Regions from separate parts of the Homo sapiens genome. Here regions 2, 3 and 4 are each linked to region 1. Evidence: promoter capture Hi-C in 16 types of primary human blood cells and fetal thymus (Javierre and others, 2016). All regions are on one chromosome and are shown on one strand. Each heading gives the region's core, a stretch centred on a gene start or on the middle of the fragment in contact. The rest is flanking DNA. Distances are from core to core; before and after follow the strand shown.

Region 1 (6,014 bases), core at 1,370-3,869:
TTATGCTGTCTTTCCCAGGTAATTGCTAATAGTGCCCCTTTCACTTTCAAAAGTGTCCTAGTTTTAATGATCAATGGTCACACTACTATAATCACTTATGGGGCATGGAAGGAAACACAGGAAGCTTCTGGCTTACAAATGCCAGACTTATAAATTTCGCTCCCCATCCCACGTCCTCACCACTGGAACTACCGGTATTACTTCCAGGGTGGGGGGCATTGTGAAAACTATGGGTCTTTTAGAGACTTGGTGGACTTAGAAGTCAAGGCAGAACCAAGCCTGAGAAAAGGTGGTATGGATCTCCAGAGACCCACCCTACAAGTTGTCCTCCTTTGCAAAATCTTCTCCCTCAAACTATTTCTCTTTATTGCATTGCCTAATTCTCCTGGTCAGAGATTTATGTGAGGAAAGTAAGCACTGTATTTTTAATAGCACAAACAGGTTGGAGAATGTTCAATGAAACGTTTTTTTTTCCCTTCCTAACATGGAGCTGCTGTCTGCTTATACAGGGGAAAGGGAGGGTTTCTGGGAGGAATAGAGGTGAAAAGGAAAAAGTAATTTTGGAGCATGAGATATTCTGGGGAATGAGACTCTCCCTTAGGGCAAACTAGGGACCCAGGAGCCAGGGGGCCGTGAAGGTGGGAGGCAGAAGAGAAGGTGGATGTCAGAGACATGCAATAGTTATTTGGGGGAAAATGTTGATTTGTGCACAAGTCATATCTTGGGAAATGAAAGGAACGTTCTTTCTCTGTCACCTGCTGTTCCTCCTCACCCTCCACTGCCTTATACGGCCCAGTACGCAGAATTCAAGCCAGTGCTAGATTATGTGCTACATGCCTGACAGTGAGACTCATATTATAACATTGCTTCTGCAGGAGTTCTTGCGTGCAGTCAACGAGTTTACCATTACATCTTGGGACACGCTCATTTTAAAGTTGGGAACTGCCTGTATAAGACATGGTCCCTACCCTGGAGGGATTCACAGTGACTAGATTTAAGGTAGACCAGTTAATAAATGCGAAACTACTGGAGAATAATCAATGGTCAGCTGTAGGATATTGGCTTTAAGTAAAATGGAAATTTATGCTAGGGTGGTATGTCGGTTCATTGAAATTCTCACATAGGACAGTATGACTGATCTATGCTAAGAATATACTTGGCTAGTAAGAGGAGGAAGAAGAAAACTCTAGTGATGGAAATCACCTGGAGCCAACGTTTGGCATCAGACATGAGCATGGACAGGATAGGCTGCAAGGAGGAATCAGGCATGATGGAAGCAAAATGGCTTTCTAAGAAGCAGTGGGAGATTGGAATGGCTAAAGTAAGATGGGGTCAAACATTTCCTGTAAATTAAAGACAGGAACATAAAACATATCACTTGAAATTTGTACACATTTCATGTGACTGAACACTTTGAGGCAATAAATCTTGACATACTTTTTCAGGGGCATGAGTTAATGTGGCTAAAGTTCAGATGAGGTGAGGATCAGATATTGGAAGAATGGGAATCCATATTAAGGACTTTGGATTTGATGAAAGAGTCCATTTATGGTGTTACTGGAAATATTTCACTAGGGCTGGAACATTGGCCTGCGGCTGGCACACAGGATGAAGGTGGAATAAGTCAGGGAGACCACTTAGGAAGCTGCTATGATAGGCCAAAGTGGGAAGCTGAGTACCTGGACCAAGATGGAAGCAGCAGATTGGAGAAAGAACACATCTGAAAGTCGCTGTGGAGATGGAAATGATAGGACTTAGAAATCACATGGGAAGAGCCAGAGAAAGTCCTTAGGTTTCTCCGGGTAACTTAAGCATAATAGGAACACTATTAGAAGTTCATGTTCCCATGAAAGTTCCTTACCTGTGGAGCCTCCCATGCCCTCCTGGTGAACCTCCATTTCTAAGGAAACCCTATAGCATTTACTGAGTATCTTAATTCTCCAAAAAATCAGACTTCTCCAAAGAAAGTCTTTAAGCATGTATTCACTAACTTGATTTTGCAAAATTACGTTAGCAAATACGTGCTATAAGGTTTCTAACCCGACAGACAAAAGCATGTAAATCATTTTACTGCTAGTTTTGGTGGAGGGTAGTGACAACTGCCAGTGTTTCAAAAAAGAGTAACATATCCAGAGTTTGTTCACACAGAAATGAATGCTTTTTAGCTTCATAACCCCTGTGCCCTTCCCGTGAGCCCCATCTCCCCAGGAAACGATATAGTACCAATTTACTAACTTAATTTGTAAAAGGAGGTTAGTGAATCAATTCTGTAAGACTCATGGAAATATTTGAAATTAATTAGCCTTGTCAGCTTTTATTTGCATAGGCTCTCTTCCAACCATATCCCCCAGCCCAAGTACAACGTTTTAGTAAGATTGATTTTAAACAATGAGACTTAGAGAATCTGTGTACAAGGAGCTTGAATAATTTAAATGCGTGGGTTTATTATTAACACAGTAGCAAATATATCAAGGAAACACGCCCCATGAAAAGTGTTTCAAAGAAACACAAATCTGTACTGAAAAAAGTCTATACGCAATAAGTAAGCCCAAAGAGGCATGTTTGCTTGGCGATGCCCAGCAGATAAGCCAGGCAAACCTCGGTGTGATCGAAGAAGCCAATTTGAGACTCAGCCTAGTCCAGGCAAGCTACTGGCACCTGCTGCTCTCAACTAACCTCCACACAATGGTGTTCGCATTTTGGAAGGTCTTTCTGATCCTAAGCTGCCTTGCAGGTAAGGAAAGGATCTCCAAACCACCAAATATAATTGGAAACAGAGTTTCCTTTTAAATAAAAATTCCACATTTTTACATAGAATTTTCATCTCCTGTACTTCAAATGAATTGTGATTAGTATGATGAGTTAATTTTCAGAACTCTTGCTTAGCAAACATATGCCATGCTGATATATTAGGGGTGTAAGCCCATAATATTATTGTTTTATGGAGCTTCTGAATGAAAATTTTCTCAGAAAAAAATATAGTTTATTACTTTACTTACTTTGAAAAGTGAAAAAAATGAATTTACTCAGAAACCAAACTTTGTGCTAGGGATAATTTTGTCTCTGTTTTACTTACTTTAGTGTTTCCTTTAAGCTCAGTGATTGACTTGCTCTAGCAGGCAGAGCCTGGGTTGGAGGGCCTGCCCTGGCTTACATATGGGAAGAACAGAAATTTACTGAGTACTTTACTGTCTAATATTTCTTAAGGAGTTGTGGTTTTCCAATCCTAAGACTGTATTTTGCAAAATATGTGAGTGATTTATGGTGCACAACATGGGTGATTTTAGGTATCTGAACAGAAGAAAATCAATTTTGGAATCAAAATACTGATGTTAGTTAGATCCAGGAGAGATCATTAATTCCAAAAATCCCTTGGGTAGTTTTCAAATATCAGATACATTTTGCATCTGTTCTTATAAGTTAGGTCCATAGTAAATACAATAATATTGTTTATCCAAAAACAGGATTTTCAAGCCATTAGTAATATTAGGCAGTGGTTAGAATGAGGTTTACTAGGCGTATTAATGACATAAGAAAATACCCACGATAAAATATTAAGTGAAAAAGCAGGATGCACACATATGCCTAGAATAAATTACTAGAAGGTTATATACCGAAGTGCTCATGGTGGTTGCCTCTGGGTGATGGGATTATAGATGATTTTAATTTTATTTCCCAGCTTTTCATACTTCCTGGGTTTTCTACGAAGAACATTATGCTATTTTTATAATTAGAAAAAAGTGTTACTTTTCAAAGTGATCTCATGTTTAGAAATAGTTCTTTAAATGTTCATTACTAAATGTTTAAGCATAGATGTTTTATGGAGTTAAACATCACCAGAAGGCAATACTCCATTTGTCCAGTGACCTAACTAGGCCCTAGAGCTGGAAACACATGTTCCTATTTTCCCTTCTCCCCAGGCATATTCATTTAAATGTAACTTTAGATATGGAAGTTTTGTCTCTTCTTAAAGGGTTTCCAGTCATTAGCCAGTTGGGTCGACCCCTGGGCCTTCTGCATCAGCCCTCTAAGATCATACCTGTTTCCCTATGTGAAGCCTTGCCCTGGCCCATACTAGGCACAGGGTTTGGAACGGTTGTTAAGAACAGTTTTTTTTTTTTTTAACTGTACCTAACATACAAGTAATTTTTACTGATTATAAATGTAATGCATGGTCATTGTAGAAAGGTTGGAAATATGGAAATTTAAAATAAAATAAAAATCATCTGCAATTTTACCACTCAGATTTGGGTGAATTATTATTCTTTTATTTGCAGGTGTATATATTACATTTTAAAAATTGGGTTTATTCCTTGTATACTTTTTTATTGTTTAAAAAAATTGTTTAGCATCATGTCAGGATTTTATTTTATTGTGACTTTTAGAACAAGACCAATAAATACTTCAGAGTGTGTTTCCTAAGTTACTATATAACTGATTTTGTTGGTATATAGTGTACACTATATATCTACACACATATTATCTAGTTGGCCCAAAGCAGTAGTGTCAGTACAGCAAATTGTGGTATGCTCTATTGTCGTTTGCTGTGCTTACATATGTATTGAAGTCAGAGAAAGGATCACTTTAGTAATCTACACCTGTCATTAGCAGTGTTCATCAGTTGATCTGGACAACTGATAGTGTTTCCATCAATGTGCAATTTGATGTTCTTCCTGGACTTGTTTTGGAGAGAATGTCACTTTTTGGTGTTAAGCGTGGTGCCTAACACATAGTGGATGCATAGTAAATGTTTGTTGAAAGAATGAATTACTTTCCCAAATTCCAAACATCCAGACATCATTTTCACATACATATTTAAAATTGATTTTGATATAACTAAACAGGTCAGATTTTGCTTAAATCAAAATATTTTCAATGACTTCTTAGGAATTCTTAGGTTAAATTCTAATTCAGGAAAACGAGTTTTAATCAAACTTCTGCAAAAAATTTATGCATATCATTTTAGGTATTTGAAATATGTATTAGTCACCTCTTAGAAAGATATGTTAATGTGGGTTTCATTTTCTGGAGGTATATGCTATGCATTTTAAAGGAGTAATATATTTGAACTTTGAGTTTGCACTCAAATCCAAAAAAGTGAGTGATCATTTGATTATATTATTTCCTAAGTCAAAATGAATCTATTATATATGAAGTTGCTGGAAATTAAATCACTTCAAATCTATCAGATTAAATATGAATATTTGGGGGATATTTTGCTGTGGTACATTAGGAGGATAATAATCCTTCTATAAGCAAAATGTTTGCCACCTTGTAGGCATTAAATGAATGAACAATCACCACCAAAATACAAGACATTCTCTCTCTCTCTCTCTCTCTCTCTCTATATATATATATATATACATATATATATACATATATATACACATATATATATACATATATATATACACATATATATATACACATATATATATATACACACATATATATATATACACATATATATATACACATATATATATATACACATATATATATATATATACACACACATATATATATATATATATATATATATATATATATATATATACACATATATATATTCTTTTGAGACGAAGTTAAGTCTTGTTGCCCAGGCTGGAGTGCAATGGCACGATCTCGGCCCACCGCAACTTCCGCCTTCCGGGTTCAAGTGATTCTACTGCCTCAGCCTCCTGAGTAGCTGGGATTACAGGCATGCACCACCACGCCCGGCTAATTTTGTATTTTTGGTAGAGACAGGGTTTCTCCATGTTGGTCAGGCTGGTCTTGAACTCCCAACCTCAGGCGACCCGCCCACCTCAGCCTCCCAAAGTGTTGGGATTACAGGCGTGAGCCACTGCGCCCAGCCTAAAAATATTTTTAAATGTTGATTAAGTGTGTACATCTTGGATTATTTTTCTTTAATAATAAGCACTTTTTTAATTATTATTATACTTTAAGTTTTAGGATACATGTGCACAACGTGCAGGTAAGCACTGGTTTTTAAAAGAGATTACACATATTTC
Region 2 (6,014 bases), core at 915-3,414, 1.2 Mb before region 1:
CAACCTGGGTGAGCTGAGATTTCACCACTGCACTCAAGCCTGGGTGACAAGAGCGAAACTCTGTCAAAAAGAAAGAAGGAAGGGGAGGGGAGGGGGAGGGGGAAGGAAGGGGAAGGGGAGGGAAAGGGGAGAGAAGGGAAGGGAAGAAAAGACTGTAACAAAGGACTATGGGAGTTGTGAACTAGGAACCCAGAAAAATATTTATATATATATATATATATATATATATATATATGGAATTCAGGATTAAACATCTTAAACAATTCTTAAACAAAAGCCTATGATTCTAATGTCAGTGACTTTTCATTCCATGGAAGCAGGTCAAAGTGCAGCCTAATTTATGCATAATTTTAACTATATTTCTGTCCAGAATTCTTGTTCACCCTCTGAGGACAGCTTCAAAGGGACTTTGCCTAATTAGAAGTACCACCTGGCCAGGCGCAGTGGCTCATGCCTGTAATCTGAGTGCTTTGGGAGGCCAAAGTAGGAGAGGAGCACTTGAGGCTAGGAGTTTGAGATCAGCCCAGGCAACATAGTAAGATCCTGTCTCTACAAAAAATGTGAAAATTAGCCAGGCATGGTGGCATGTGCCTATAGTCCTAGCTACTTGGGAAGCTGAGGTGTGAGGATCACTTGAGCCCAGCAGTTGGAAGCTGCAGTGAGCTATGATTGCACCATGGTACTCAAGCCTGGACAACACAGCAAGGCCTTGTCTAAGGAAAAAAAAATAGCACCTAACATTTAAGTAATGCTGGCAGGCAAACAGTCCAGGAATTAGTCTGGATAAAATGTACTATTAGGCAATAAGTGAGAGCACTTAAATGAAATTTTCTTCCATGGTTCATACTCATCTTTTTTTTTAAGATGGAGTTTCTCTCTTGTTGCCCAGGCTGGAGTGCAATGGCACGATCTCGGCTCACTGCAACCTCTGCCTCCATGGTTCAGGCGATTCTCCTGCCTCAGCCTCCCAAGTAGCTGGGATTACAGGTGCCTGCCACCACGCCCAGCTAATTTTTTGTATTTTTAGTAGAGGTTTCACCACGTTGGCCAGGCTGGTCTCGAACTCCTGACCCCAGATGATCCACCCGCCTCGGCCTCCCAAAGTGCTGGGATTACAGGCATGTGCCACCGCGCCTGGCCCATACTCACCTTTCTAGAACCAATATGTATTTTGGGGTTAATCACCAGTTCTTATAACTTCTAGGGTGAAGCTTCTATGGTACAAATCCTATATAGGAGACTATTCACTTCTAAGTTCTCTTTATATTTGCTAAGTCTAATATTCAAACGTGATATTTTCAACTTGTGTCTTCTAGTCTCAGTTTATTCAGTTTTCAAAGACCCTCTATAACTTATTTCATGAGGACCCTGAAGAAGAATCATTATATCAAGCCATTGCTGTTGTAACCAGCCTTTTACTCAGGATGGAAGAAGTTGGAAGGAAACTACATAGCCCTACATCATCAGCCAAAGGATTCTCTGGTACTGTCTGTGGTTCTGGAGGACCCAGTGAGGAAAAAACAGGGAGCCACTTGGAGAAAGATCCTTGTTCCTTTAGGGAGGAACCTCAGTGGTCATTTGCATTTGAACAGATTCTTGCATCGCTGTTGAATGAACCAGCATTGGTGAGGTTTTTTGAGAAACCCATAGATGTAAAAGCCAAGCTGGAAAATGCAAGAATTTCTCAGTTAAGGTCTAGAACCAAGATGTAAATCCCTAGGAATTGCCTATCATAGACAAGTTTACTAACATTCCTGTAGCTGTCAGTTTGATTCCTGTGAGTAGGGCTCAGGGATTTATCTTGTTACCAATGTGTCTGAAGGCCAAAATATATATCCAGAAGCACAATGCATCATTCCTTTGTTGTTGATAATGGGCTTTGTTAGCACTTTTTAAAACAAACAAACAAACAAAACAAAAAAGCAAACCACATTTGTTATCTCAAATTTTGATGATATTCTCAAATACAAATATACTTTTTTATATTTCACAATATATGCAATATCAGGGGAATATGCTAAATGTTACCACCAGAGGGCACAAGCATATCACTTTTAGTAAGGAAATTACTAGCTTGTGTTGCTATTTACATATGAATTACTGATTATTTTGAAAAGACGGTGTTATGCTTGGGTGTTAGTGAGGCTGATATGTCATGTCAATCGATAAACCCTACTTTCCAAATTATCTAAAAGATTACCATTTGGGGCCCTTGTTTTCAAGTTATCTAACTGAAATATTATTAATTTTTTTAAGTTAATCTCATTCAGTCTTCTAGTAATAAATGCTTTTTTAAGTACCTTCTACAGTCTTCCTACCTGAGGGGTTCAGAGGCTGCTGACTCACACTGCTAACTCTGTTACTGACAAAAGCAAATCAATAACTCTAAATTCTGGGCTGATATAAAGAAAAAAACAATATTGGATTTGGATTTAATCTGGGTAAAATCAGCCTTCTGAGAAGGGCTAAGAAACAGTTCAATTAACTGTATAGGTCTTTCATTAGACCGAGACATCACTAGAAATTCTGGGCACTGCTGTTTGTGGTATTTGTCTCAGAGTAGCTTATGACTGTTTTGGTTCTAGCTTTAGATTTTGGATTTTCACCAGTCATGTGTTAATTTACATTAGATAGTAAAGAATGGCTACACTAAGACTGAATTATCTTATTAGTCTGGCAAGCATATAAAGTATACTTGTATGTAATGATTGCCAAGGTAACAGAATTGCTGACATCTGTCTAAAAAGTTTTGACTATCCAATTTAGATGTGTAATTTCTATATACTTTATGCTGTTTATATTTCAGTCATTACACCAAGTCCATTTAGAGATAATGGGCTTTGTTAGCACTTTCAAAAAAAAAAAAAGCAAACCATACTTGTCCACTGTCCTGTGCTATTCCTACCAAGGACAATTTATTAATCAATTGACTTAGAAAATAGGGGGAGAAATCATTCATTGGAGCTTCTTTCTTTAGAAAAGACTTTGGTTATAAGCCTTTTGACTTTTCTAGATGTGAAACCATGAAAGGGCAGACCTCCTTCAGAGTGACTCAAGAGGTCTCCCTTTCTTGGAGGGAGTTGGTACAGTCAGCCTTTGGGAAGAATCCACTGTGAACAAAGCTTAACACATGGGGCTTCATCGCTCATAGAATATGTTATTTTCAAAGAAGTTCAAGAATTTTCAAGTTGAGCCTTTGAAAATCCCATAAATTGGTTTTAGCTAAACACTTACTAGTAGTGTCTTTAAATTATTTAATCAACCTTGTCTTTTCAAGGAAATTACCACTTAAAGAGATAGTTGGTAAATAAACATCTATGCCTTTTCTCAGAAATGATTTGCTGAACTATGTCCATATTTTACAGCTTAGATAATAGTTTATATGGAAACTATTATACATCTGCTATTGTGCAATGATTGTTAAATTATACTGAAGTAGCTCTAGAAAGACACATGTATACAAGGCACTATTGTACACACTTTGCTGAATATTTTGTCAGTTGTATTTACAAAGAAAGGTACTTTCTTAAGAGCATATATGTTATTAATATTTGATATGATTTTAAAGTCAGAATAGTACAGATTGCTGAGTATTATACTTTAGGCTAGATTAATTAAAATTGAATACTGAAAGAGATTTTTTGAGTTGCAAAAAGTTTATAAATGCAAAGCAAAAAGAAAACATTTATTTTCTGAGTCTGCAGGAGAAACAAACTAAACATTATAGTTTTATAGCTGCTATCTTGTTAACCAAACAGGTTGTTCATAATATTAAAAATCTTACGTAGTTGTGTTAAACTGAACCAGTTCATTATACCTTATGCATTAAATTAAATATGTTATAAGGTGGCTTTACTTGTCTTTATAAAAATAAATATATCTACTAAACATGAAAAATGGTTTACTTAAAAAGATTAGTATTATTTATTATGATGTCTTTTTTTCCTTTTTCTTTTCTTTTCTTTCTTTTTCTTTTTTTTTTTTTTCTTTATTGAGACAGGTCTCAATCTGTCACCCAGACAGACAGGTCTAATTCTGTCACCCAGATTGGAGTGCAGTACAGCCTTGATCTTCCAGGCTCATGCAATCCTCATGTCTCAGCCTCCCAAGTAGCTGAGACCACAGATACACACCACCATGCCTGGCTTATTTATTTATTTATTTATTTATTTATTCATTCATTCATTTATTTATTTATTGGTAGAGATGTGGTCTCCCTATGTAGCCCAGGCTGTTCTCAAATTCCTAGGCTCAAGCAATCCTACCGCCCCAGCCTCCCAAAATGTGGATTACAGGTGTGAGTCACCATGTTCAGGCTTTTTTTTTTTCTTTTTCTAAATTTCAGTTCACACAGAACTATGATGTATTTTTACTTGCACTTCACTCAGATATCACTTGAGGACTTCCCTCTTGTATCAGAATTCAATTGCAGAGAGCTAATTCACTCTAGTTAGTTTAATCAGGAAAAGATTTATTACTAGATATCAAGTGGCTTACATAATTATCAGGAGGATGGACTAAACTGAGCTTTGAAGAACAACTTCCAAAGGCACACCACTATCAGGCCACCAAGGGAATTGCTAACTCTTCAGTGTTAAGGACACTGCTACTTCCTACTGCTGTCATAAAAAGCCATCACTACTGCTGCTACCTCAGAAACCATGCTTCAACTGCTGTGACTTACACTAGCAAAATAGATGGCAGGCACCCTGCCTCTCATCACCCACAAACTGATGACTAAATTGCAATAGAACAGCCAAACATCTTCACAACTATGTTTACCAGCAGAAATGGCAGAAACATAGCCAACACCTCACTTCTGTCATTCAAATCTCACATGTGTGCATCTGATTGGCCTCTAATAAATCCAGAATCCTAGTTGCAGAGGAATCTGGGAAATTTACTTTTAGCTTTTTAGCCTCTACAGTATAGAAAGGCAAACTAAGAGGGTGGAAAGCAAATTGAACAGTGTGTTTGTTTTCTATTGTTGCATAGCTAATTCCATCACACATTTATTATCTCACCATTTCAGTGGGTCAAGACTCTGGGCTCAACTTAGGTCGATCTTCTGCTTAGAGGATCTCACAAGGCTGCAACCAAAGTGTCAGCCAGGATGGTTCTCATGTAAAGGATCATCTAAGGAATAATCCACTTCCAGGTTCACTCAGGCTTTGGCAGAATTCATTTCCTTATGGTTTCCAGTCTGGGATGCCAGCTTCTTGCTGGTAGTCACTTGGCAGCCACCCTCAGCTTCTAGAGGCTTCAGTCAGTTCCTAACAGCTGCCCTCACCTTCTGTGGACAGTTCTTTGCCACATCAGCTTTCCCCAAAATGGCCACTTACTTTATCAAGGCAGCAAGAAGTCTCTAGAGCAAATCTGCTAGAAAGACAGTGTCTTATATAATGTAACATAATTACAGCCATGACATCCCATCCCTTTCACCATGTTCTGTTGGTTAAAGGCAAATCACAGGTCCTGCGCACACTCAAGGCGAGAAGAGTAACAGTGATGCATGTGACGCTGGGGCCCTGTAGCTCCGGATCCCTAAAGGCAAGGCAAATTATTCCGGTAACTACATTCATAGGCATATAATCATCAAAAGAAGCACATTTATCCTATCTCACGTTATGCTGCAGTTTCCATTTCTGTCTTCAGAACTACATATTTCTCCCATTGCAGAAGCATCAAGCAATGTATTTCCTAGCTTCTAATTCTGCTTGTCTTCCTTTTGCAGGTAATGCCATTTCTTTATGACTACTTTTAAGATCTTGATCTTTCAGTGTTCTACAGTTTCCTATGATCTATCCAGCTTTTAAAAAATCCTGTTTGAGATAAATTATTAAATTTTGATAATTGACTATCATTTTCTAAGACCTCTTTACCTTTGGCAGAGTCCAAACAGACAAGTTAAAGGAGGGTAGGATAGAAATCACCCCCACCTCCCATACACACGCATGTTCTTCAAATCTTTGGTACACACTCATCTCTGTGGTTTCCCTAGGGATGTGTTATTG
Region 3 (6,014 bases), core at 1,662-4,161, 1.2 Mb before region 1:
GGTCAGTTGGAATTTTGCCTACCATTTTTGGTGGTGTTCTTGTGCCTGGAATTATTCTCTTATGGATTATTTGTAAGTTTTTCCACTATTTTAGAGAAAAAAAAACTGAAAATTTCCCTCTACCTTTTTGGAGTTTAAATAGTATGAATCCTTAAAGTTGTTTGTAGGAAAAAAAAAGTCAATTTTACTAACATGCTGAGTGCCTTCAGAGTGAAATAATATGTAGCCGGGTGCAGTGGCTCACGCCTGTAATCCCAGCGTTTTGGGAGGCTGAGGCAGGCAGATCACTTGAGGTCAGGAGTTCAAGACCAGCCTGGCCAACATGAAACCCCGTCTCTACTAAAAATACAAAAATTAGCTGGGCATGCTGGCGCTCGCCTGGACATTTTCTGGAGTTATATAAAACATAAGAATTGCTTGCCCCCTTGAGATGGAGGTTGCAGTGAGTCGAGATCGCGCCACTGCACTCCAGCCTGGGCAACAGAGTGAGACTGTCTCAAAAAAAGAAAAAAAAGAATGAAATAATATGTTCGTGTTACTCAAATGCACAAGCAGCCTAGCCTCGGAGAAATAATGTGAACTTCAGATTTTGTAAGCTATTGCCAATGGCAACCACCAAATGTCACCACTCTCAGTAATTCAGGCAAAGTTACTGCTCCCACATTTACAGTTTCACATACAGGGCCTCTTGGAAAACTGCCCCAAGTTGATTAGGAAATGGGGTATCCAGGAAAGGTGGGCAGACAAAAACTATTTCTACTACCTTTTTAAGTGAAGCCATGAGGTTTAGCTTCTCTAGCAATTTGCATGAATGACTTCTATGAAGATCGCCAAGGGTTTCTCCCAGAAATTTATAGCGCTTGTGTCTGCATTTTGAAAGGCAGACTATTATCCTGAAGTTCTTTTCACAGTGCTTATAAAATACAACTTTATGTAACATTTTACAGTTTTCTGAGTGGTTTAATCATATAACTATATACTGGAACCTCATTCCCAAAAACCTGCGAGGTTGATAGGCTAAAGGTTGTCCCCATTTTAGAGATGAGAAAATTAAATCACTTGTCCAACGTATTAGAGGACTGAACAAGTAATAAATGACAGAACTAAACAAGTACCTGAGTCAGTCTCCTGATGCTTGGTGCCCTTTCCTTCCCAGCGCACTGCCCCCATCTCAGAAGATATTAAATATCCACTCAAAAAAATCTGCTAAGTTTACAAAGAATGGCTTTTTATTTCAGGGCTTTCTTACACGTGGAAATTGTCAACAGTTTTCCAAGAACGTTTTGGTACTCAAGTTTCTATGGTTGTGTTTGAGCAGGGGGAAATTTGACTGTTAGTCCAAGGCAAAGCTCCTACTCCCAGGCTAACGATTTCATTACATGGGCAGGTCACGTCTCGGTATCCGTGCAAGAGTTACACACTACTGAAAGCTCAATATAAAATTTGATTTTCAATTGGATGTACTCCCAAAATCCTCGAGAAATCAGTGGAAGGTGAGGAAATTGAACACGTGCATCCTTTCTGCCCAGTGTAGACATAGGCTGGGACAAGACTTTGACCTTGGGCAAACCTTCCTAGATGTTGTGGGTTCAAGTTGGAGTTTTTATTCCTGAATTCCTGAATCTTACCCTTCTCCTCAACCCTTCCCACCAAGAAAATTATATGTATAATGAGCAATAGTAGAATAGTAAGCAAAGTATTTATTAATAAACGCTTGATCTGAGAATTCAGCATAGGCTTGGTAACCTTGTTCTCCTCTTTCTGTTGCAGGTTCTTTGGTTTAAAAAAATTGATTGGAAAGTGCAGCTTAAGCTACTCCCTTCACTCTGAATCTGAGAAGCTAAAGTCTTCAGAACAAATTTGGCCTGACCCAATCATCCAGCAGCAAGTGGAACCGGCTATCTAGTCACAGATGTGTATGATTCTTTTCACTGTAATGACCTGAGTCACTGGTGAGCTGTGGCCCAATGATTGGCCTCAGACCAATGAGATTGGAAACTCCCATGCAGGAAGAGCAAAGGTGCCCGAAATTGCAGGTGAAAGTATTTTCTATCACCACGGACCAAGGCTGAAGCACGGAGAGAGGGTTAAAAATGTTTTGCTTCCCTAATATTAGAGAGGGAGTACACTTGCTGTTCCACATATGTCTATTGGGGAGAGATTGATTTCAATGTTGGCTCCCGCTCTCGAGTTGCCATGGTGATGAGCAAGTAAAAAACAAGTGATAGCAGAAAGAAAAATTCAGTGCCACCCAGAGATCCAACACTCCAGAAGGAAGTAACAAGCTTCCCCTCTGAGCAGAACCAAGCTTGCCAGTGTCACATGGGGGCTAGGGAGAGGGTGTTTGGGCTCTATGATTTGTTATCTCAGCAGTGCTCATTTTGTCACCAGTGTGTTAGAATGAGAAAACACGGCCACTGCTACTGACAGCCAAGCCTGCATCCTCTGCCCCCAAAGTAATATCAAATGACACTGAGAGCTTTGAGTTATTATCGTACTGCTTCTCTCAGTGCCTACAAACAGATGCTGCCATCAGGACCCATGCTGCTGACATGCATCAACACCTCCCAATTTTTGTGCTGACTAGGGACAAGGCTGCCCTTCTGAGACACTGATGGTTATGTCCAACACAAAAAGAGTGGCTAAGTCAAGCTGGCTGTGAGTACAGGACAGCAGCTAATTCTTTAGCAGTGCATGCAGCTTGGCTGAAAAGATAATGTTCACCTCTCTGCAAACCCATCATCTAACATTTAATTGTATTCTTTGCATGTTTCGGAGATGTAGCTGTCTTGGGTCACCAGTCCTGGCAACATGGCACCACTTCTTATAGGTAAAGAATCATAGTTTGATAGTTTCCTGGAGATACAACCTTGGCCTCAGTAGAAGCAGGAGATTGGTGTCAAAGTGTAGTGGTGTGGCCTTCAAAAGTAAGTTCTGTCCTGGATTACAAGTGCTTCATATTTAGTCAGAGCTTAAGGCCCTGGACGATTGCAAGGGTTGGTAGAAAGCACTGGACTCAACATCGAGATTCTGGAGGTTAGTTCTGACTCCTGCACTGACTTGCTATGCAACCTTGAGCAAGTCATTTCCCATGTCATCATCTTCAATATCCTCATTTAAAAATGTTACCGGGTACAGTGGCTCATGCCTGTAATCCAATTTGGAAGGCTGAAGTAGAAGGATTGCTTGAGCCCAGGAGTTCAAGACCAGCTTGGACAACAAAATGAGACCACTGTCTCTATTTAAAAAAAAAAAAAAACAGCAGAGCATGATGGCACACGCCTGCAGTCCTAGTTACTCAGGAGGCTGAGGTGGAAGTATTGTTTGAACCCACGAGTTTGAGGCTGCAGTGAGCTATGATTGAGCCACTACTCTCCAGCCTGGGTGACAGTGAGGCCCCGTATCTAAAACAAAATGAAAAAAAATGAGAGTACTGGGAGTATTAAGAGATTCAAATGAGATCACGGAGGTAAAGTTGCTTTGAAACACAGAAAGAGCGTAGCACCTGTGTAAAGCAAGCTTATTAACATTCCCAGAATATTGAAGGACAAAGATGTGCAGTCCAAGATTCTTGAAAGTGTGCATGGAGAAAAGCAAGTATCTTAGCCCATGTCTTTCCCATAAGCTTCAGGGGAGTGTGTTGACAGTAATTGGGGCACCAGGGTTTAGTAGAGCTAGATAGATAGTGTATTAGTCTGTTCTCATGCTGCTAATAGAGACATACCCAAGACTGGGTAATTTATAGGAAAGAGGTTTAATTGACTCACAGTTCCCCAGGGATGGGGAGGCCTCAGGAAACTTAGGATCATGATGGAAGGAGAAGCAAACAAGTCTTTGTTCACATGGCAGCAGCAAGGATAACTGCCAAGCAAATTGGGGAAAAGCCCCTAATAAAACCATTAGCTCTTCTGAGAACTCACTATCATGAGAACAGCAGCATGAGGTAACCGCCCCCATGATTCAGTTACCTCCCACCAGGTCCCTCCCGATGACATGTGGGGATTATGGGAACCACAATTCAACTTGAGATTGGGGGCAGGGGGGACACAGCCAAACCATATCAGATGGGAAAGGCAAGGGAAGTCAAAGTGGTGACGACTATTATGATAGCATGTGTCAAAAAAGAACAATTATTAGATGTGTATACATTCATATATACACCTATGCACAATGTATAGTAGTGTGTGTACATGTATATATAAATATATGTGCATGTCTCTATCACATCTGTAATGTGCCAAGTACTCTGCCAGCCCCTTACATATGCTGTCTCATTTAATTCTTACATTAACCCTGTTAAAATGGTATTATTATCATTCCTATTTTATACATGAAGAAACTAAGGCTTAGAGACATTTTCTCATGGTCACTTAGCTAACAAGGAGTCGAGCCAGTATTTGAACCCAGGTTTGGTTTAAATCCAGAGTCTGTCCCTATAACCACCAGGTACAAAACAGTGCTGGCCATAGAATCCTCTGGATGGATGAGCCCTGCTCATCCTGGGCTTTGTGCTGTAGGTTTAGAGCTCAGCCACTAGAGGGGGCTGCCTGTCTTGCTGTTAGCGAAAACGAATTGAATCGCTAGGGACTTGGAGGCCGCTGTTCTCTCCCTTGGATGGAAGACTTCTAGAAAAACCCAGAGCCTGACTCCAGCTGGTTCCTGGTCTCTCCCTCAACCTCTTTTAATTCACACTTGGTCCCAGGCCTCAAGGTGTCCCCAGTGATGGGGATAGCAATGCCTTTTTGTGACAGTTTACACACTTCTTTCCCCGTAGGCTGCAGGAGGCCAGGGTGAGCTGCCTGCCCTAAGGGACTTTCAGGGCTTCTCTGGGGGAATAAGGAGGAGGGAAGGAGGAGCCTAGTAGTTAAGAGCCAGGACTCTGTAGTCGCACTGTCCTGTTCTACCCCAGCTTCCCACTCATTGCCTGTGCTACTAACAGGTCACTTCACTTCTCTGAGTCCCAGTTTCTTATCTGTAAACATTAGGATGCCCCACCACCACCACCACCCAGTTCAGGATAAAGTGTGTGTGGTGCCAAGCACAGTGCCTGGGATAGAACGGGAGAGCTCAGCAATTGGTAGTTCCTCCCACTTTTCAGCCAGAGTGAGACATGCCCAGCCAGGGCCCATTCCACTCTGAGGCAGCACAGCACCGAGGGGCAGGAACAGAATTCCCTCATCCCCCTCTCACCCCTGGTAGCCCTGTGCCCACAGCCCAGGTGCTGTGAGAGCCTGCCACTGCCGGGCAGGAGGTCCCCAAACATTCCTCCCTCAGTGACACCTTTCAGAGGCCCTCAGTGTTTCCTGGCCCCTGGCCCAGAGTTCTTCATATCCTCTGACTCACTTCCCTGCAGCCAGAACTTAAATCTTTTCTCCCTTGCCCTCCCACAGATTTAATCCTTCAGCAAACCCTGTTGATTCCACCTCCTGAAAGCACAGGGCTCTGGTGTCAGGCAGCCCTGAACTCTAGTTCTGCCACTTACCATTAATGTAACCTGGAGCAATTGCTGTCATCTCTCAAATCTTGGATCGGTCATTTATTAATTACGTGACCTTAAGATTCCTTAACCTCTCTGAACCTCAGTTTCCTCATCCATAAAACAAGGAAAATAATAGTGCTTGAGTTTTAGGGTTGCCATAAGGATTCAATGAGGTAAAATGTGTAAAAAGCCTGACGCTTAGAAGGTGCCACAATTTACCAACTGTGTGATTTGGGGCAAGTTTTAAAAACCACTCTAAGCCTCAGTTTTCCCAACTGTACCTATCCTTCAAAGTTGTTGTATTAAAGGAGTTAATCCATGTAAGGTTCATAACAAGAATTCCAGAATTATCAGCTGTTCTAACTCTTATCCTCCTAGGTATCCTATTGTCTAGTCTTCTCTGGACAGGGAAAGCCCCACTCCCACACCTGTGGGTGTCACCACCTCCTACTCCCCCGCCCCCCTGCCACCCCGCACTGTGACTTTATGGCTCTCTAGTGGACAGACAGTTCATCTCCTCTCTTCTCCAGTCTCC
Region 4 (6,014 bases), core at 2,187-4,686, 1.1 Mb before region 1:
GTACACACCAAAATAACAGAACTTTAAAAATTAAAAATAAAATGATTATATATCTTCCCTCACCATCAATAAAACTAATTGTAAGGATTGTTTCTCAGGATGAGAAGGAGAAATGAATAGAGTTTGGCAAATGAGTACAAACTTATAGTTAGATAGAAGAAAAAAGTTCTAATGTTCCATAGCAGACCAGGGTGACTATAATTAGCAATAATACATCACATATTTCAAAGTAGCTAGAAAAGAGGAGTTCCAATGTTACCAACATATAAATTATCAAGGTGATGGAAACCCCAAACACCCTCACTTGATCATTACACATTGTATGCATGTATAAAGTACTCACATGTACCCCATAAATATGTAAAATATTAGGTATCAATAAAAGAAAAAATCATACTAAAAAGGATTGTTTCTCTCCAGATTGACTAATTTTACAATGTTGTGCACTATCATTCATTCAATAAATATTTAAACTAAGCACCTACAATGTGCCAAGCATTGGGCTAAGCACTAGAGACCATTTTTAATAAGAGACATGATTCTTGCCTTCAGAGTTTATAGTCTAAGGAAGGACTTCATATATTACAGATTAGGTGCTTCTCAACATCAATAAAATAGATACTCTGGTCAGACCATGACTGAGCAGGCTGATCTTTAACAATTTTACTCTTTTGAGCATGGAGAGCGGAGGTATCTGATTTCTACTTCCTGAAGATTGCGGTTTTGTGTTTACTCACTAAGAAAGGGAACCACCTTTTAATTTTCTGTTTCAAAGCATTATACAATAATACCATATGTCCTCCTAGAGTAGATACTTTATAGGAGCTGTGTGTATCCTACAAATAAATCTAGTGACAGAAAAAGGTAATTTCCATGGCAGCAGTCCTTTGGGAAAAAAAAAAAGAAAAAGAACTTCAGTTTGTGTTGCCTATGGGCCTTAGTATTCCAGGATACAGACTTATAATAGTAAGATTCAGGCATTCCCATTTTTCTTGTGGAAGAATTGGCTTTTAAAAAAAATGGGTTTGTTATGAGGATTAAATTATATACTGTATGCAAAATACATTAAGTATAAAGTAGTATTCAAACATTAATTTTAAACTAACTCTAGAAGTCATTCTGATAGTTGTCATGTGCTATCCCCTACTCCTACTTCAGACCTAAGGTCACATCTAAAGCTCAGGGCTCTTCATAAATAGTAATCTTACACATCACTTCAAATGAATTTGTATCGTTAACCGGACTTCAACTTTCTCTTATACCACAAAAGCTTCAATTAGGTGATCAAGGGAAAGTGGTGAAAATAGGGAGATTACAACTCCCTTAATTTTTTAGCCTCTTCCACCATCTATCACCTCTTTTCCCCTTTGAAAGTATAAACCCTCACTGTGTTAATTTGAGGAGACCAAATTATGATACAAGGTTGAGAAGATAAGTAGTAGTGCCAGGCCAGAACCAGAATGGAAAAGGATAAGAATAACGAGAAGAGAGGAGCTATAAACTCTGGATTTTTGTTGTTGTTACTGTGTTTCACTTAACTCTTCCCGTGTGCTCTTTTATTCCACCTAAGTTCTCATGTTCGGCATTCTATTTAAATGCAAACTGGCAGAATCAATGTCAGGTACCAATCAAATAACTACCTAACACAAAAGCCCTCACCACACATAATAATAGAATTGTAATAATGAATTTGATAGTTTGCTATAGCTCAGTAATAATTTTCCACAGAGATAACTTGGTTTAGGTGGTTTCTATTTGCTAAGTCAGTCCTGCTCTATCCTCTCGTGTGAGAGACAACACTGTTTACACATCAAGGTGGCTTGGATACCAGCACTTTTAGTGGAATCCAAAAATACAGCAGCTTGCTCTGGAGTATCTTAAAATGTCAAGAATCCAGAATCCAGAGAGGTAAATTTAAATTGGGACTCTGCCATGACACGTGTTTACCTATGTAACAAACCTTCACGTGTACCTCCAAACCAAAAATAAAAGTTAAGAAAAATAATAAATAAGTAAAGACTCTGACCAATGAAACAAACCTTGGCAAAATCCATGGGTGCACAAAGGCAGGCACTGCTATTTCCTAGGTATACTTGTGATTTAATATGTAATATAAAAGAATGAAAGAGTGCTAAGCAGACTGTTATTCTCCAGCTATTGTTTTAGAAGAATACACCTGCTAGGAAGTGCACTTCTGAGCACAGGTAGCAAATACCTTCTGTGGTTCTGTGGCTGTTTTTAGTCTTTGAACTTTGAAAGAGGTTTTCCACCTTGCTGAAAAAGGCAGCTGAATATACAGACTAACTGATCCACACACTAGCCCCAGAAGCTAAAGATAATTAGTTGTGGACCTTAAAGGAATTTAATAATAGGTTTTTCCTTTTTAATTTGATTTTCATGAAAGTCTATGTTTATGGAAGAAACTGTTGCTACAGTTACACAACTATTTTATCAGCCTGAAAATAGAGTTGCATAAAGAGTTGGAAAGTGTGGACAGTGTAACAACAAATGTTAGAGGTCAAATAGAACTTCTGTAGGCTTAATAAATTTGTATAATTACTTCTATTATTTTTTCCAAATACAAAAGTAATATGCCTTCAAGTAGAAAACAGCACCAGGCACGGTGGCTCATGCCTGTAATCCCAGCACTTTGGGAGGCCGAGGCAGGCGGATCACTTCAGTTAGGGAGTTCAAGACCAGCTGACCAACATGGTGAAACCCCGTCTCTACTAAAAATACAAAATTAGCCAGGCATGGTGGCGCATGCCTGTAATCCCAGCTACTCGGGAGGCTGAGGTAGGAGAATCACTTGAATCCGGGAGGCGGAGGTTGCAGTGAGCCAAGATCACACCATTGCACTCCAGCCTGGGCAACAAGAGTGAAACTCCATCCAAAAAAAAAAAAAAAACCCAGAAAACATAGAATCCTTCGGGCCAGGCGTGGTGGCTCATGCCTGTAATCCCAGCATTTTGGGAGCCCGAGGCAGGTGAATCACAAGGTCAAGGGATGGAGACCATCCTGGCTGCCAACATGGTAAAACCCCGTCTCTACTAAAACTACAAAAATTAGCTGGGTATGGTGGCGCACACCTGTAGTCCCAGCTACTCGGGAGGCTGAGGCAGGAAAATTGCTTGAACCCAGGAGGCGGAGGTTGCAGTGAGCCGAGATCGCGCCACTGCACTCCAGCCTGGCGACAGAGCAAAACTCCATCTAATAAAAAAAAAAATAGAATCCTTTGCTGGAAGTTAGGATTGGACTAAAAAATCTCTTTTATTTTTATTTATTTATTTATTTATTTTTGAGACAAGGTCTCCCTCTGTTGCCCAAGCTGGATTACAATGGCACAATCTCAGCTCACTGCAACCTCCGCTTCCTGGGTTCAAGCAATCCTCCCACTTCAGCCTCCCGAGTAGCAGGGACTACAGGTGCATGCCAAAATGTTCAGCTAATTTTTGTATTTTTTTGTAAGGATGGGGTCCCCCTGTGTTGCCCAGGCAGGCATCAAACTCCTGGACTCAGGCAATCTGCCTGCCTTGGCCTTTGGAAGTGCTAGAATTATAGGCATGAGCCACCATGCTTGGCCTTAAATGATCTCTTTTAAATAAATGGTATCTTCACCGGGCACGGTGGCTCATGCCTGTAATCTCAGCACTTTGGGAGGCCAAGGCGGGCTGATCACTTCGGGTCAGGAGTTCAAGACCAGCCTGGCCAACATGGTGAAACCCCGTCTCTACTAAAAATACAAAAATTAGCTGGGCGTGATTGTACCTGCCTGTAATCCCAGCTACTTGGGAGGCTGAGGCAGGAGAGTTGCGTGAACCCAGGAGGGGCAGGTTGCAATGAGCTGAGATCATGCCATTGCACTCCAGCCTGAGGGACAAGAGTGAAACTCCATCTCAAAAAAATTTTTTTTTAATTAAAAAAAAAGGTATCTTCTAGCTGATTCAAGTTTGTTTCAAGATACAATCACAAATAAAATTCAGTACATATATTACATTAAGGACTCATTAAAATAATTTTCTAAAATTATTTTTTAAATAGGAGGAACAATTGCCCAGCTCAAATCAGTGGTAAACATATTTGGTATGATAGGGAAAATTCTATAGCTAAGAAAGTTTCTACCTATTTTGCTCCTTGGGGAGGGAATAAAAAATTTGAATGGGTGATACTCATCCTTCATATTTCAATTTGAATGTCATTTCTTCAGGGGAGCCTTTTTTAATTCCCTAGACTAGATTAGATCCCTGTTATACGTTCTCAAAGAAACTGTGCTCTACCTTCATAGCACTTACCACTGGGTGGAATAGCCTATTTAGTTATATTACTAGTCAATTTTGTTCTTTCTCATTAAGCTGTCAGCCAAGAATCATGTCTATCTGGTTCACCACTTTATCTCCAGTGCCTTGCACACAGGTGCTCAATAAAAATTTGTTGAATGAATAAATGAATGAATCTGGAACAAAAATTGTGGCAATTATTTTGAAACCATTCTTCTCCTCCCTTCTACCTTATAACTCTAACCAAGTTTCACAGATGTAGTCCCACAGACAAAACGGAAGATCAGATGTGCTGGGCCCACTACTCAACACCCACGTCAATGGGATAAGGTATGATGGGAAGGAGTCATTAAGAAGATAAGCAATTTTGGATGGGTGCGGTGGTTCACACCTGTGATCCCAGCACTTTGGGAGGCTGAGGTGGGCAGATCACTTGAGGTCAGGAGTTCGAGACCAGCCTGGACAACATGGCAAAACCCTGTCTCTACTAAAAATACAAAAAAATTAGCCGGGCATGGTGGCACACCCCTATAATCCCAGCTACTCGGGAGGCTGAGGTACGAGAATCATTTGAAACCAGGAGGCTGAGGTTGCAGTGAGCTGAGATCATGCCACTGCACTCCAGCCTGGGTGATGGAGTGAGACTCTGTCTCAAAAAATAAGAAGACAAGTAATTTTACGGGGAAAACAACCAACTAGTACATACAGAATTGAACATATAAATGCTTTGGTTCCATCCCATCTAAAATTGTATTTTTCTTAATATATAATATTAACTTCAGGATATAAAACTGATGTTATAAGTTAAAGGATTGGGCCAACTTTCTACCTTCACTAACATACTGGTCACAATTCTTGTTTCACTTTTAGAGGTTTTCCTCAAATAGTCTTCTAATTAGGAGGGTCTGAGACACAAGGTATACAGACTGCTGAGTGGTAAAACGCAACCATTTACTTTGCCCAAATTTCATTTTTGTTTCTTTGATGAATCAAAGGGATTTCCCTACAAACAGAGTAATTGATTTAGAATACCTACAAGGGTAACTACAACCACATGAATTTGTTTTCCATTTTTATAGTTTGGAGCCCTTTCCCTCCTCCACAGCATTCCACCATTGTTACTCGTGCTTCACACACTCTAGTTCAGGAAGCCACAGGGAGAGTAATCAACCTCATCTGCTAAAAGGAAGAGAGAAGGAAGGAGTTGAAGGAATACTCATATTCCACTGAGTGATATGCGGAGATGATATAGTATAAATTTACGTTCTCAACTACAAATGTTTTAAAGTGATTAAATGAACTGACAGTGGCAATAGAAATCTAGCACAAGCTTTAACAGTTAGAAAGGAGAATTTCCTAAGTTTGTGATTCTACTGCAAAACCTTTAAAGAATATATGTCTGAATGCCTTCTATTTACCTTGCATGGGGTTTGATTATACCCAGGTACCTTCGTGGTTCTAATCAATAAATCACCCCAACTCCAATACTTCTGATTTAAGAGTGAGTTTAGGTTAATATAAATTGGAGGTCTCGGACCAGTGAAGGCCTCTGGGTCTTTATATTTGCTGTTCTCTTTGTGTGAATTGTCATCCCTTGCTCCCTGCCCCTTTATTTAGCTGGTTAAACTGTACTCACCCTTAGATCTCAGCTTAAATATCATTTTGTCTAGGATACTTTTCCTAACCTCTGGGATCAGATTGGGCTCCCCTGATGACTTGTCTCAAACATTCTGTACC

Evidence for each region. The method cuts DNA at HindIII sites, captures the fragments that hold promoters and counts their contacts. A CHiCAGO score of 5 or more calls a contact.
Region 2: a contact is called between a fragment that was not itself captured here and the fragment with the promoter of VSIG1 in region 1, in 3 of 17 cell types (naive B cells, total CD4 T cells and naive CD4 T cells). The highest score is 8.8, in naive B cells.
Region 3: a contact is called between a fragment that was not itself captured here and the fragment with the promoter of VSIG1 in region 1, in 2 of 17 cell types (naive CD4 T cells and total CD4 T cells). The highest score is 6.3, in naive CD4 T cells.
Region 4: a contact is called between a fragment that was not itself captured here and the fragment with the promoter of VSIG1 in region 1, in 1 of 17 cell types (naive CD8 T cells). The highest score is 5.7, in naive CD8 T cells.

The regions. Positions count from the first base shown.
Region 1 is chrX:108,042,446-108,048,459 of GRCh38, forward strand. VSIG1 (V-set and immunoglobulin domain containing 1) reads left to right here and starts at 2,620. Exons shown (of 7, transcript NM_182607.5): 1 at 2,620-2,734. The coding sequence starts at 2,686. The HindIII fragment of the contact is 8,448 bases long and covers 123-6,014 here.
Region 2 is chrX:106,872,254-106,878,267 of GRCh38, forward strand. TBC1D8B (TBC1 domain family member 8B) reads left to right here. Exons shown (of 21, transcript NM_017752.3): 21 at 1,317-3,897. The coding sequence ends at 1,712. Among named protein-coding and RNA genes, the nearest start is that of RIPPLY1, 28 kb to the right of the region's middle. The HindIII fragment of the contact is 1,911 bases long and covers 1,210-3,120 here.
Region 3 is chrX:106,889,997-106,896,010 of GRCh38, forward strand. No RefSeq gene overlaps it. Among named protein-coding and RNA genes, the nearest start is that of RIPPLY1, 10 kb to the right of the region's middle. RefSeq lists an enhancer at 4,659-5,183. The HindIII fragment of the contact is 1,211 bases long and covers 2,307-3,517 here.
Region 4 is chrX:106,986,975-106,992,988 of GRCh38, forward strand. The region is part of intron 3 of MORC4 (MORC family CW-type zinc finger 4); the gene reads right to left. Among named protein-coding and RNA genes, the nearest start is that of MORC4, 10 kb to the right of the region's middle. The HindIII fragment of the contact is 4,337 bases long and covers 1,269-5,605 here.